Regions from separate parts of the Homo sapiens genome. Here all the other regions are linked to region 1. Evidence: promoter capture Hi-C in 16 types of primary human blood cells and fetal thymus (Javierre and others, 2016). All regions are on one chromosome and are shown on one strand. The core of a region is centred on a gene start or on the middle of the fragment in contact, and the rest is flanking DNA. Distances in the headings are between cores, read along the strand shown.

Region 1 (3,261 bases), core at 1-2,500:
TTATATCCAACTATTTGATTTAGTCTATATGGAATTCCCCTTTGTCTTCTTTAGGAATATCAAAGCATTTCAACAGGTATTTAGTACCTGTGAGCTAGCCAACTTGTTACTTTGTATCTTTTTAAGTATCTACTCTTTACTAGTTATTGTCTAAGACACTATAATGTCTCTACTCACTATAGCAATCTTCTGAAGATTAGATTCCATTTTATAAGTGAAGATTCCAATTTTGAGGGGTGATACGATTTACTGGAACTCAGATCCTTCTGACTTTCAAATAGTTGTTTCTTGGACCAAAGGACAATGAAACAGTGATGACTATATCTGCATGAAAAGGGAAAAAGGGAGCTGTATCTGACTCTTCACTTTCAGAAAATAAGGTGGCTGCTGATGCTAACCTGAGAGCAGCATTAGGCTATGGGAAAGCTTTCTCCAAATTCAGATCATCATTTTGTTACAGGAAAGGGGTCCCAATGCAGACTACAACATGGGGTTCTTGGATCTCATGCAAGAAAGAATTCAGGGCAAGTCCGCAGTGCAAAGTGAAAGCAAGTTTATTAAGAAAGTAAAGGAATAAAAGAATGGCTATTCCATAGACAGAGCAGCCATGAGGGCTGCTGGTTGCCCATTTTTATGGTTATTTCCAGATGATATGCTAAACGAGGGGTGGATTATTCATGCCTCCCCTTTTTAGACCATATAGGGTAACTTCCTGACGTTGCCATGGCATTTGTAAACTGTCATGGCGCTGGTGGGAGTGTAGCAGTGAGCACCACCAGAGGTCACTCTCGTGGCCATTTTAGTTTTGGTGGATTTTGGCCGCTCCTTCACTGCAACCTGTTTTATCAGCAAGGTCTTTTTGACCTGTATTTTATGCTGACTTCCTATCTCATCTGGCGACTTAGAGTGCCTTAACCGTCTAGGAATGCAGCCCAGTAGGTTTCAGCCTCATTTTACCCAGCTCCTATTTAAGATGGAGTTGCTCTGGTTCATGCGCCTCTGACAATTTCATGTTAATTTTTCTCTTTGAATTCATGAGCAGCACTGAAGAGAGTGCATGAGGTTTCTGGAAAATAGCAATTTGAAGTCTTTTAGTCCATAAGATTCCCTGTTATAAATGTCTTCCTAGGCTGAAAAAAAAGTAATGGTTGACCATAAAAAAGATGGCGGCCGCAGCTTCTCCACAGCAACGGCAACGCCATTCTCAAGCAAGCGCATCAATATATTTAGTTCCGGCCTCTTTGCACGTCATTTCCGGCACCGGCATGGCCGGGTGAGCTGCAGGCTACCTTATTTAAGACCGGGAATTTAGTCAGCCTGGTGAGCCGACTCTGAGGAGATGGAGTATCGCTGAGGTGATGAGAGAGAATGTGGTTGTTAGCAACATGGAGAGAGAAAGTGGGAAGCCCGTGGCTGTTGTCGCAGTTGTGACTGAGCCTTGGTTTACCCAGCGATACAGAGAATATCTCCAGAGGCAGAAACTCTTTGATACACAGCACCGTGTGGAAAAGATGCCGGATGGCTCGGTGGCGCTACCGGTGCTGGGAGAGACGCTTCCAGAGCAGCACCTGCAGGAGCTGAGGAATCGTGTTGCCCCAGGCAGTCCCTGTATGCTCACGCAGCTCCCGGATCCTGTTCCTTCGAAGAGGGCCCAGGGTTGTTCACCTGCCCAAAAATTGTGTCTTGAGGTGAGTCGCTGGGTGGAGGGTCGGGGAGTCAAGTGGTCAGCCGAGTTGGAGGCTGATTTGCCCCGATCATGGCAACGGCATGGTAATCTCTTGTTGCTGAGTGAAGACTGTTTCCAAGCCAAGCAGTGGAAAAATCTGGGACCGGAACTCTGGGAGACCGTTGCCTTGGCACTTGGCGTCCAGCGTTTGGCAAAACGAGGGCGGGTATCACCGGATGGTACTCGAACTCCAGCAGTGACACTGCTGCTGGGTGACCATGGCTGGGTAGAGCATGTGGATAATGGTATCCGTTATAAGTTTGACGTGACCCAGTGTATGTTCTCCTTTGGAAACATCACTGAGAAGCTTCGAGTGGCATCGTTGTCCTGTGCTGGAGAAGTGCTGGTGGATCTCTATGCAGGGATTGGTTATTTTACATTGCCTTTCCTAGTTCATGCTGGTGCTGCCTTCGTCCATGCTTGTGAGTGGAATCCCCATGCTGTAGTTGCTCTGAGAAATAACCTTGAGATCAATGGAGTAGCAGATCGGTGCCAAATACACTTTGGAGATAACAGAAAACTGAAGCTCTCAAATATTGCAGATAGGGTGATCCTGGGGCTGATTCCCAGCTCTGAAGAAGGCTGGCCCATTGCCTGCCAAGTGTTAAGGCAGGATGCTGGAGGCATTTTGCATATCCACCAAAATGTGGAATCTTTCCCAGGGAAGAATCTTCAGGCTCTTGGAGTCAGCAAAGTAGAGAAAGAGCATTGGCTGTATCCTCAGCAAATTACCACCAACCAATGGAAAAATGGAGCTACCAGGGATTCTAGGGGAAAAATGCTGTCACCAGCCACCAAGCCAGAGTGGCAAAGGTGGGCAGAATCTGCAGAAACTCGAATCGCCACTCTTCTTCAGCAGGTGCATGGGAAACCATGGAAGACACAAATTCTGCACATCCAACCAGTGAAATCCTATGCTCCCCATGTGGATCACATAGTCCTGGATCTGGAATGCTGCCCCTGTCCTTCAGTTGGCTAGAGGAGGTAGATCCTGGGACACATGGGATCCACGTGCGAGTGGCCCTTAAATGTATCAGTTCAGTCCAGGTTGTCATCCCTTTTGTCCCCTGGTGATCAGTTTTTTTCATATTTTATAGCCCTGAAAGCAGGCTCTAGATCAATTCAAATTATTTCATTTGTCTTTCATTGATAACAGAAAATGAAATACCTGTTTGGGAGAAGCAGCATGGCCCATTGAAATGAGGCTCATCTGTGCAATTATGAATTCCAAATTCTGACCTCAGTTCTGGAATTGAAGTTTCAGTATGTTTTGGCCTCGGGTTTCGTTATTTGCAAAATGAGAGTTTCTTTGAACTGTCTCACGTGACTATTAAGCAACTATACACAGGACATCGGTTATTTTAGAGTGAAAGACACAGTGCTTTTTCCAAATTGCTCTGGCTACCATATAGAAAATTGACTGAAGGAGGGCCAAGATGGAAACAGAGAGACCAGTGAGGAGGCTTCTGTGGTTGTCCAGGTCTGAGGTGATGGTAACTTGGACTCGGATGGTGGTAATGGGAGGTAGATTGATA
Region 2 (2,883 bases), core at 194-2,693, 630 kb before region 1:
GTGATTCATGTTTAGCCCCTCATTGCATATATACAAAACAAAGACCACTTATATATGTATATATGTGTGTGTGTAAATATACACACACACACAACGATACTATTTCCCCCACCACTAGATTATTTTAAGGCAAAACTTGGATACCACATAGTTTATTCTATAAACAATGCAGAATCATTTTTAACTCTGAATTTCTGGAAGCAATAGTCTCCCAGGACATAAACAGCACAAGTATCCCCACCAAACCATTATTAGGCATGTAACATTGGAATTAGTAGCTAATGAAATTAGGCAAAAGAATAAGAGGTAGTCACATTTAAAAGGATGGGGAAAAATTATAATTTTTCAGATACTTATATACTAGGAAGATGCAAAAGTTACCTGAAACATTAGAAACAGACTTCAGTAAGTAGCTTTCTTATCTGTAATCAACAACCAGTTATATTGATATAAGGAAAGAAAAGAGCTACCTTAGTAGCAAAAATTATGTATAAATATAAAGTAAAAGATCTTTCTTAATACTAAGAACAAAAACCTCAATAAATATGTACCCATGCATAAATATAAAATAAAGTGAAATACTGGATGTCTTAGTTTGTTCAGTTTAGTTCAGGTAGACAAAAGTCCACAGCTGCTTAGAAGCAACAAACATTTCTCTCTCACAGTTCTGGAGGCTAGGAAGTCCATGGTCAAGGCTCTGGCAGAGTCTGAAACAAGAGGGTCCTGTTTCCCAGTTCATAGGTGGCCATCTCCTCAATGTGTCCTCACGGGGTGGAGGGGTCAAATGAGCTCCCTCAAGCCTCTTTCCTAAGAGCACCCATCTCACTCATTAGAGCTCTGCCCTCATGACCTAATCACCTTCTGAAGGCCCCACCTCCTAATACCATCAAGTTGAGGGTTACAGTTTCAACATATGAATTTTGGGGGGACACAGTCGGATCACAGCACCTGACAAGAAGCTTAGTGAGAAATTTGCAAGATACCCTTGAGGAACACCTTAAAGCACTCCTGAAGGACAGAAAAGAAAACCTGAATGTACGGAAAATCATAACTGTTCTTGGATAGGCAGCCTCAATATTGTCAAGTTACCAATTCCCCCTAAATATATTATGAATTAAGCACAATTTCCTTCAGAATACCAGTGAGTTTTTGTTTTGTTTTGTTTTCGTCTTTAAATTTTGGAACTTGGCAAAGTGATTCTAAAGCTGAACCTGGAAGAAGAAACAGTGGAGACTTAAAGGTAAAAAAATCTAAAAATATCTATCCCAGCAGGCGTAATCAAATGTATTATAAGCCTAAAGTAATTAAACAGTATGGTACTAATTCAGATACAGACAGATTATTCAGATACAGACAGAAAACTAAAAAATAGAACTTAATACACAAGAATCTGAATGTGGCATTTCAGATTAGTATCCAGGAATGTCCGTGGATCATTTAGTAACTGATTTGGGGATAACTGGCAGATATTTGGAAAAAATATAGGGGGGCGGAATTCTGCCTCAATCCTCATACCAAAAACTTAAGAGGGATCAAGGTTTAAATATTTTAAAATATTAACATAAAAGTGGAAACAGGTGATTTTTTTTCCATACATTTGGCATAAAGACTTTTTAAAGGATGACACCAATCCCAGAAGATTTAAAAGAAAACTGGTAATTATTACTAAATAAAAATGAAACCTCCTGCCTGCCAGAACTCTATAAACTGAGTCAGAAGAAAATCTTAAACCTGAGATAAAATATTTTCTAGATATGACAAGGACTAATTTTCTTCCTGTCACGGGTCGGGTTCTCCAGGAAGCAAATGTTGAGACAGAGTTAAGAGTGTGGGAGGTTTGCTGGGGAGTAGCGCCTGGGAAGGAAGAGGGAAGGAGCAGAGTCTGCAGGGAGAGCCGTGGGACCAGGGTGTGGACCTGCCACACCAATAAGCTTCCTACTAGGATGGCCTGTGAGGGGAGTCCTGTCCTGGGCAGAATGACTGGGCTCTGGACACTCAGGGCTCCCTAAGGAAAGCATAGGCTCGCCACCTTCCTTCCCTCCTCTTTCCTCGGGGGACAGCAGCTCCACTCTCAGAGGAAACCACTGGCACTGGGGTGGTGGATGTGCTTGATGGAGCATCGGGGATCAGAGGGTGGGCATGCCTGTGGGCTGTCTCTACCTTCCACTTGGCCATCTCTGTCTTCCGCTTGGACATAGAGTGTCCATCTCGTTACTACTCTCTTTGGATCCTCTTCCCTCTGGCTCAGTCATTGGCTGGGAACTACCCTGAGAAGACCGGCCCAGGCTGGAAAGCCGAAGCCAACCCTGAAGGAATGAACAGTGGAAAGTTGCCAGATAACCACCCTTGTTGCTGCAGGATGGTGAGTCTGGTCTTGAATAGAGATCTAAGGAGCACATCTCTATGTCCACTACACTCACTATACAAACACCCCTTATAAGTAAAAAAGACAAGCCAGACTCTAGAAAAATAGGAAAAATACATGAATAGGTAGTTCATAGAAAATAATTAATGGCCAACATAAAACGATAACTTATAAAAGAAATTAAAACTACTGTGAGGTAGTGTTTCCCACCTGACAGACTGACAAAAATGAAAAAGATTGTTAATACCTAGGTCTGGTGACAACCTTGGAAAGCATGGATTTCATATGCAACATTAATTGGAGGGCAAATTACAGCTTTTTTGGGGAAGGAAATTTGACAATATCAGAATTTAAGGTGTACTATATATTCTTTGATACAACGATATGCCCCCTGGGAATATGACCTTTGCATGTATGTGTATATTTGTGTAGGAAGATGTTTATTGCAGTTTTGTTTATAACAGAAAAAAAACAACCAAAAGAAAAAGGCCACTTTTTTTTTTTTTTTTTTTTGAGAC
Region 3 (3,228 bases), core at 541-3,040, 660 kb before region 1:
TGTGCAATCCTAACCTTTAAGGTGGGTTTAATGTTAGACTGTTCCTGACCCTAGTTGGAGATTTAATTGCTTAGAATAATTGCTGGGTCTCCAAAGTTAAATTTGATGAATGCCTCCCCTTAAGACCAAACCTGCAATTACTTATGAAATTTCATTTTTGCTACCAGCATTTCTTAGCTTAGCTCCTCATCTGAATTGCAGAACATGGAAATGATTGGCGTGACTATTTCTCAGTTTTTCTAATGATGGTGCACATTAGTACCGTTCTCAATGCATGAAAAAGGTCATTCGTTCTATGTAGAGGATATCTTAGGGCATTAAGGCTTCATGCTCAGCCTGTTGAGAAATGTTGCTTTCTGCAGTTACTGGGCTTGGTAACTGAACCTTACTCTTTTTTAGAAAAGAAATTCTCTGCCGGGTGTGGTGGCTCATGCCTGTATTCCCAGCACTTTGGGAGCTCGAGGCAGGCGGTTCACTTGAGGTCAGGAGTTCAACACCAGCATGGCCAACATGGTGAAAACTCGTGTTTACTAAAGATATAAAAATTAGCCAAGTGTGGTGGCAGGCACCTGTAATCTTAGCTGCTCGGGAGGCTGAGGCAGGAGAATTGCTTGAACCTGGGAGGCTGAGGTTGCAGTGAGCTGAAATGACACCACTGCACTCCAGCCTGGGTGACAGACTGAGACTCCGTCTCAGAAGAAAAAAAAGAAATCCTCTAGTATTGGTGTTTTAAGCGTCTTGTTTGAGGAAAAAGAATTTTCTTTTTATGTCACTAATAATTTATACTTTGAGTATATCATGTAGTACTTGTTATCTACTATAAAGCAAAAGCATTGTGATATTATACAAGCAAACTCTGTTATACATGGAACTAGTGTCTTAGTCCTAGGAGTCCTTAATCCCTTGGTTTTAAATAGCACGGCGTACTGTTTATAAATAAAAGTCATGCGTGGTCTGTTTTTTTCTCGTTTTCTAAGCATGATTTTTTTCCCCCAGGTATCTTTGTCTTTAAAAGGACATTGTTTAACTGTGATTAGTATAAGTCAGACATAAAAACCACTGTTTATAATTTGGCATTCTAGTACTGTGGAAATGTTTAGGAATTAAACCACATTTGTAGGAAAGCAATCACAGTTGTCAAGCTATTAGAAACGTGTTCTAACCACCATGAACTCTTTAGACTTCCTACTTTCCCTGTTGTAGTATACATTAAATATTATCTATACTTGACATTGATAATGTTGAATTTTGCCTGAGGGTTAAGACGTCCCTTCACTCTTTTGTGTTTTGGGAAGGGGCTTAGTGCAAGGACCCACTTTTTCCCCGTATGACTTAGATAAGATTCACAGGTGAATTCCCCACTCCCTTCTGTTCACCTATGACAAGGTCAGAAACAGATCCACCAAATTCCCTTTCTTTGCCTCATAAGCAGTGAGTTGAACTGCCTGTTCTGAATTATCAATCAGAACAAAATGCTTGTTAGCCAAAGCTTGTTTAAGCTTCTCTCCTTCTTCCAGCCCCATGAACTTTGACTCACCCTCAACCTAAGCCAGGATGTAGCCCTTCCTTTAGGACCCCTCCCAGAAAATATGCTGACGTTATGGTTAAACATTCTGTGATCTGCTATCCTATACCTCACCCTGTCATCCTACTTCCTCACACCCCATGCTTTCCATCTACCCTTCATTGGTGATGTTAATTTTGATCACCCAGTTAATGCATTGTCTGATTTTTCCACTGTATAGTCAACTATTTTTTTTCTCTCACAACTGATAAGCAATTGGTGGGGAGATACTTTGAGACCATGCAGATATCCCACTCCTCATCAGTGTTTCCTCCTAGATTTAGAATCCATTGGTGGTTCTTGCCTGAACCATTCTGTACTTTGATGGTTGGAAATTGGTAATTTTTCCCCCACTTGAGCAGTTCTGCCATATTTAGCAGTTGTGACCAGGCATTCTCTCGTATTCTCTGTATGAATTTATGAATTCTTATCTTTTCAGTAGTCTGCGATTAGTCATTATTGTCTCTCAATTATTTTCGTGCCCCAGTTTTCTCAGATTTTGCCATGAGGATTTCCTTTAAGCTTGCTCCTGTCTCCTTTCTCCTTATGACATGCCTCCAGGTTTCTCCGCTAAGCAATTCTTTACTTTCTGGCCAAGCAATAGCATCTTATTGTGTATTTATTCTGCCTCAGTCCTGGAATCAGCCATTTGTCCTAGGAGCCTAATGTCTTTTACTGGGGATTGCTATTAGAGACCAAGATACTGGTGTTAGTTGTGCTCATTGCTTCTAGGCATTTTCAGGAGGCCATTATATGTATATATGTATATTTTTAGATGTATTCTTGCTTGAAGGAGGATATAGCTACCTTGCTCTTCTGAAGTTTCTTTTAACGTTAAATATCTCTTTTTAGAGAGCAATAGGATTTCGTATTGTTCAAAAGGATTAAGAATAAGAATGCTTAAAATCTGTTGTATGTTGAGTGAGTTCATGCTCTACGGACCAGAAATCTAGGGTACACATTTCCAAATGAGGAGCTCTTGCCCTTATACTAAAATGAGGACTTGGCTATGATTCTCTTTGTAGAGATCGGAAACTGGAGGAGAGAAGCACATAGCTTCTCCTGACACTTTGGCTTTCGTTATACAGTTGACAAGTGAACAACGTGGCTATGAATTGCACAGGTCCACTTATGGGATAATTTTTATGAGTAAACGTTTTGGAACATTTTTTTGGAAATTTGTGACAACTTGAAAAAACTTGCAGACAAATCTCATAGCCTAGAAATGTCAAAGAAGTTAAGGAAAAGTTACATAGGTCATGTATGCATAAAATATATGTAGATACTAGTCTATTTTATCATTTATTATCATAAAATATATACAGATCCATTATAAAACATTCAAACATATCAAAACTTAATGCACACATTTACAGATCACACAGTGACATTGCAGTTGAGAGAAATGTAAATAAATGGAAAGATATAGTATTAAGCTATAACTGCATAGAATTACCTGTAGTACATATGGTACTACTGTAATAATTTTGTAGGTATCTCTTGTTGCTATTGTGGTGAGCTCAAGTGTTGTATCTACTTGAGTACCTGCTTAAAATGCCCTGTGACGCTGATCATCTCTGAGTGAGCAATTTGTCTTTACGTTAAATTGCCTATTGCAGTTAAAAGTGATCACTCATGGTTCTCTCATATTTTTCATTGATTTA
Region 4 (2,943 bases), core at 135-2,634, 520 kb after region 1:
AATGTAGACTAGTTTCACGTTTCTCTAGAACAAATCCCCACTTGCTGAGTGTGCTTAGGGAATGTCGACTCACTTTGTTAACAAGGTTTAGGAATGTAGACCTCTGTTTTAAAATGCCAGTATTCTAAATATTCTAAAATAAAGGGACTCTGAGGATTCTTTGCAGTTTGGGATTATGCCCAGCTCTGCTTCCTGTTCTAGTTTACGATAATAGATCAGAGGGTGAAAAAGGTCAGCATCCAAACAGACTTGGAGCTCAGTCCTGCTCTACCACTTTCTAGGTGACCTTAGGAAAGTTTCTTAATACCTTTCAAACTCATCCTATAAAATGCTGGTAGTTGTTCATACACTTCAGAGGGCTACTGTAAGAATTAAATGACAAATGTGTGCAAATTATTTCATTCACTACCTGGCACATAATAGGCAGTAATGGTGAAGATACAATATAAGTACATATACTATTTTTTGTTTTTAAAATGTGTGCATTTGTATATCCTTTTACGTCCTTATTTTTCTCCCAAATAATGATACTCTTTATATTCTGAAATGGATGCCAAAAGTCCATATGTCACTGCCTTCCTGTGATAGATCACATTTTCTTCTTTTTCTTTTTCTTTTTTCTTTTTTTTTGTTGAGACAGAGTCTTGCTCTGTCACCCAGGCTGGAGTGGTGCAATGGCACGATCTCGGCTCACTGCAACCTCTGCCTCCTGGGTTCAAGCGATTCTCCTGCCTCAGCCCCCTGAGTAGCTGGGACCACAGGCGCCCGCCACCACACCCGGCTAATTTTTTGTATTTTTAGTAGAGATGGGGTTTCACCGCATTAGCCAGGATGGAACATTTTCTAGTCCCTTAAAATAGGTTAGTGATTGTTGGCTCCAGAAGACGAAGTTTAGGCTGAAATGGATATTGTGAATATGATAGACTTAGGAACTAAGTGCAAGGAGGAAGAGGTCCCTCTTTAGCCTCCTTTTTATATTGCAGGGTTATTGGCTATAATTATTCCACCTCGGCTTTGTCCTAATTTCTCTTTACTGGTTATATAAATCCTAACTTTCCTTTGAAATTGACTTCAAAGGTTTCCTTCTGTCAAGACCAAGTTATTCTTTTGAAACTAAACAGGGTGCTTTTTTTCTTTAGCTGCTGCTTATGCCTTCATATTGATTCCTTGAAGTCTTTATAAGTTTTATTATTGGTGTCTTAAAAAAAATACTTTGCTTTTTAAAGTAAAAGTGTTTCTAAGCTACGTGTGGACAATGAGGATTAGTATTCTGTCTTTGAAGCTTGATCCTCAGACCTTTAATGTGAAGATTTACTTTTTTGCATTGTTATTTCAGGGTTAACCCTTAATTCTAAACACTTAGATCTGAGATAAGATTTTCTAAAAGGGCTGCTAAAAGTTGTGTTTCTTATTTTCGGTATGGTTCATGGAACATTCTATGCCTCCTATTGTTGTGTTGGAATGGTTGGGAAGGAAGGAGGAAGAATAAGCTTTAACAAATACCTCCAAACATAATTTATTTCCTTCCACAGGGTTTCTGATCTCTAACTTGGCTGTGATCATTGTGATGGAGCAAGAAAAAAAACTGTTGGTCTCAGATTCTAACAGCTTTATGGAGAGGGAGAGTTTGAAAAGCCCTTTCACAGGTGAGGGATCAAGACGATGATCTGAATCCTTAGGAAATTTGATGTAGAAAGAACAGGACACTAGAATGAGACAAACCTTAATTTAATTCCTTGTTCTGTCACTTATAAGCTGTGTTAATTATTTCAGCCTCATTGTTCTCATCTTTAAGAAAATGAATAATATCTATTTCACATATATTTTAGAATTAGTGAGATACCGTATCCAAAGCTACTGTTCTTAATAAATAGTGGCTATTGTTATTTCTATAGCATTTGCTCAGATTTTAGCAAAGCTATTGTCTAGTTTTTACCTGAGATGGTATCCTGTTCAATTTAACTTCTATTCACATCAATCCTGTTTTTTCTCTTAAGTCTTCTAGAACAAAACCTAATGCATTTATTTTTAGATTGATGTTCCCTTTGCCAATAATGATTCAAATAATTCATTATTGTTGTTGCTAGGTACAAAAAAAAATCCACCTGCTTCTGGTAAACAGAGGAAAAGAAGTAAAACTGTCTTTAAAAACTTTTTTATATGAAATTATTTATGAGGTTTTACAGTGTTATTTCCTCTCTTCCACTGCAATTTAGAATTTACTTCTCTGGCAGAGATTTGGAATATGGTTAGAATATTTGTTTATTCTTGCAGGAGATACAAGTATGAATAATTTGGAAACTGTTCACCACAATAATTCTAAGGCAGATAAACTTAAAGAGAAACCTTCAGAATGGTCTAAAAGACATAGACCACAACATTATAAGCATGAGGATGCAAAAGAAATGCCACTGACATGGGTTCAAGATGAGATTTGGTGTCATGATTCCTATGAGAGTGATGGCAAGTCAGAGAATTGGGGAAATTTTATAGCTAAAGAGGAGGAAAAACCCAATCACCAGGAATGGGACTCAGGAGAACATACCAATGCCTGTGTCCAGCAGAATTCATCCTTTGTAGACAGACCCTATAAATGTTCCGAATGTTGGAAAAGCTTCAGTAATAGTTCTCATTTGCGTACTCACCAGAGGACCCACTCAGGAGAAAAGCCTTATAAATGCTCTGAGTGTGCAAAATGTTTTTGTAACAGTTCTCACCTGATTCAGCATCTAAGAATGCACACAGGAGAGAAGCCCTACCAGTGTGGTGAATGTGGGAAAAGCTTCAGCAATACCTCCCATCTTATTATCCATGAGAGAACTCACACGGGAGAGAAACCCTACAAATGTCCCGAGTGTGGGAAGAGATTCAGCAGCAGCTCTCACCTTATTCAGCATCACAGATCACATACAGGTGAAAAACCATATGAATGTTCTGTCTGCG

Evidence for each region. Contacts are between HindIII fragments. The CHiCAGO score rates a contact against its expected background, and 5 or more counts as called.
Region 2: a fragment that was not itself captured here is called in contact with the fragment with the promoter of TYW2 in region 1 in 1 of 17 cell types (M1 macrophages); the score reaches 5.8 in M1 macrophages.
Region 3: a fragment that was not itself captured here is called in contact with the fragment with the promoter of TYW2 in region 1 in 1 of 17 cell types (M1 macrophages); the score reaches 5.9 in M1 macrophages.
Region 4: a fragment that was not itself captured here is called in contact with the fragment with the promoter of TYW2 in region 1 in 2 of 17 cell types (total B cells and non-activated CD4 T cells); the score reaches 5.9 in total B cells.

What each region holds. Positions count from the first base shown.
Region 1 is chr8:124,449,570-124,452,830 of GRCh38, forward strand. TYW2 (tRNA wybutosine-synthesizing protein 2) reads left to right here and starts at 1,251. Exons shown (of 1, transcript NM_017956.4): 1 at 1,251-3,261. The coding sequence starts at 1,359. The coding sequence ends at 2,705. The HindIII fragment of the contact is 1,607 bases long and covers 425-2,031 here.
Region 2 is chr8:123,817,414-123,820,296 of GRCh38, forward strand. No RefSeq gene overlaps it. Among named protein-coding and RNA genes, the nearest start is that of FER1L6, 33 kb to the right of the region's middle. The HindIII fragment of the contact is 972 bases long and covers 958-1,929 here.
Region 3 is chr8:123,791,481-123,794,708 of GRCh38, forward strand. All of the region lies in intron 15 of FAM91A1 (family with sequence similarity 91 member A1), which reads left to right. Among named protein-coding and RNA genes, the nearest start is that of FAM91A1, 25 kb to the left of the region's middle. The HindIII fragment of the contact is 587 bases long and covers 1,498-2,084 here.
Region 4 is chr8:124,974,074-124,977,016 of GRCh38, forward strand. ZNF572 (zinc finger protein 572) reads left to right here. Exons shown (of 3, transcript NM_152412.3): 2 at 1,533-1,646; 3 at 2,275-2,943. The coding sequence starts at 1,568. Among named protein-coding and RNA genes, the nearest start is that of ZNF572, 2.2 kb to the left of the region's middle. The HindIII fragment of the contact is 208 bases long and covers 1,281-1,488 here.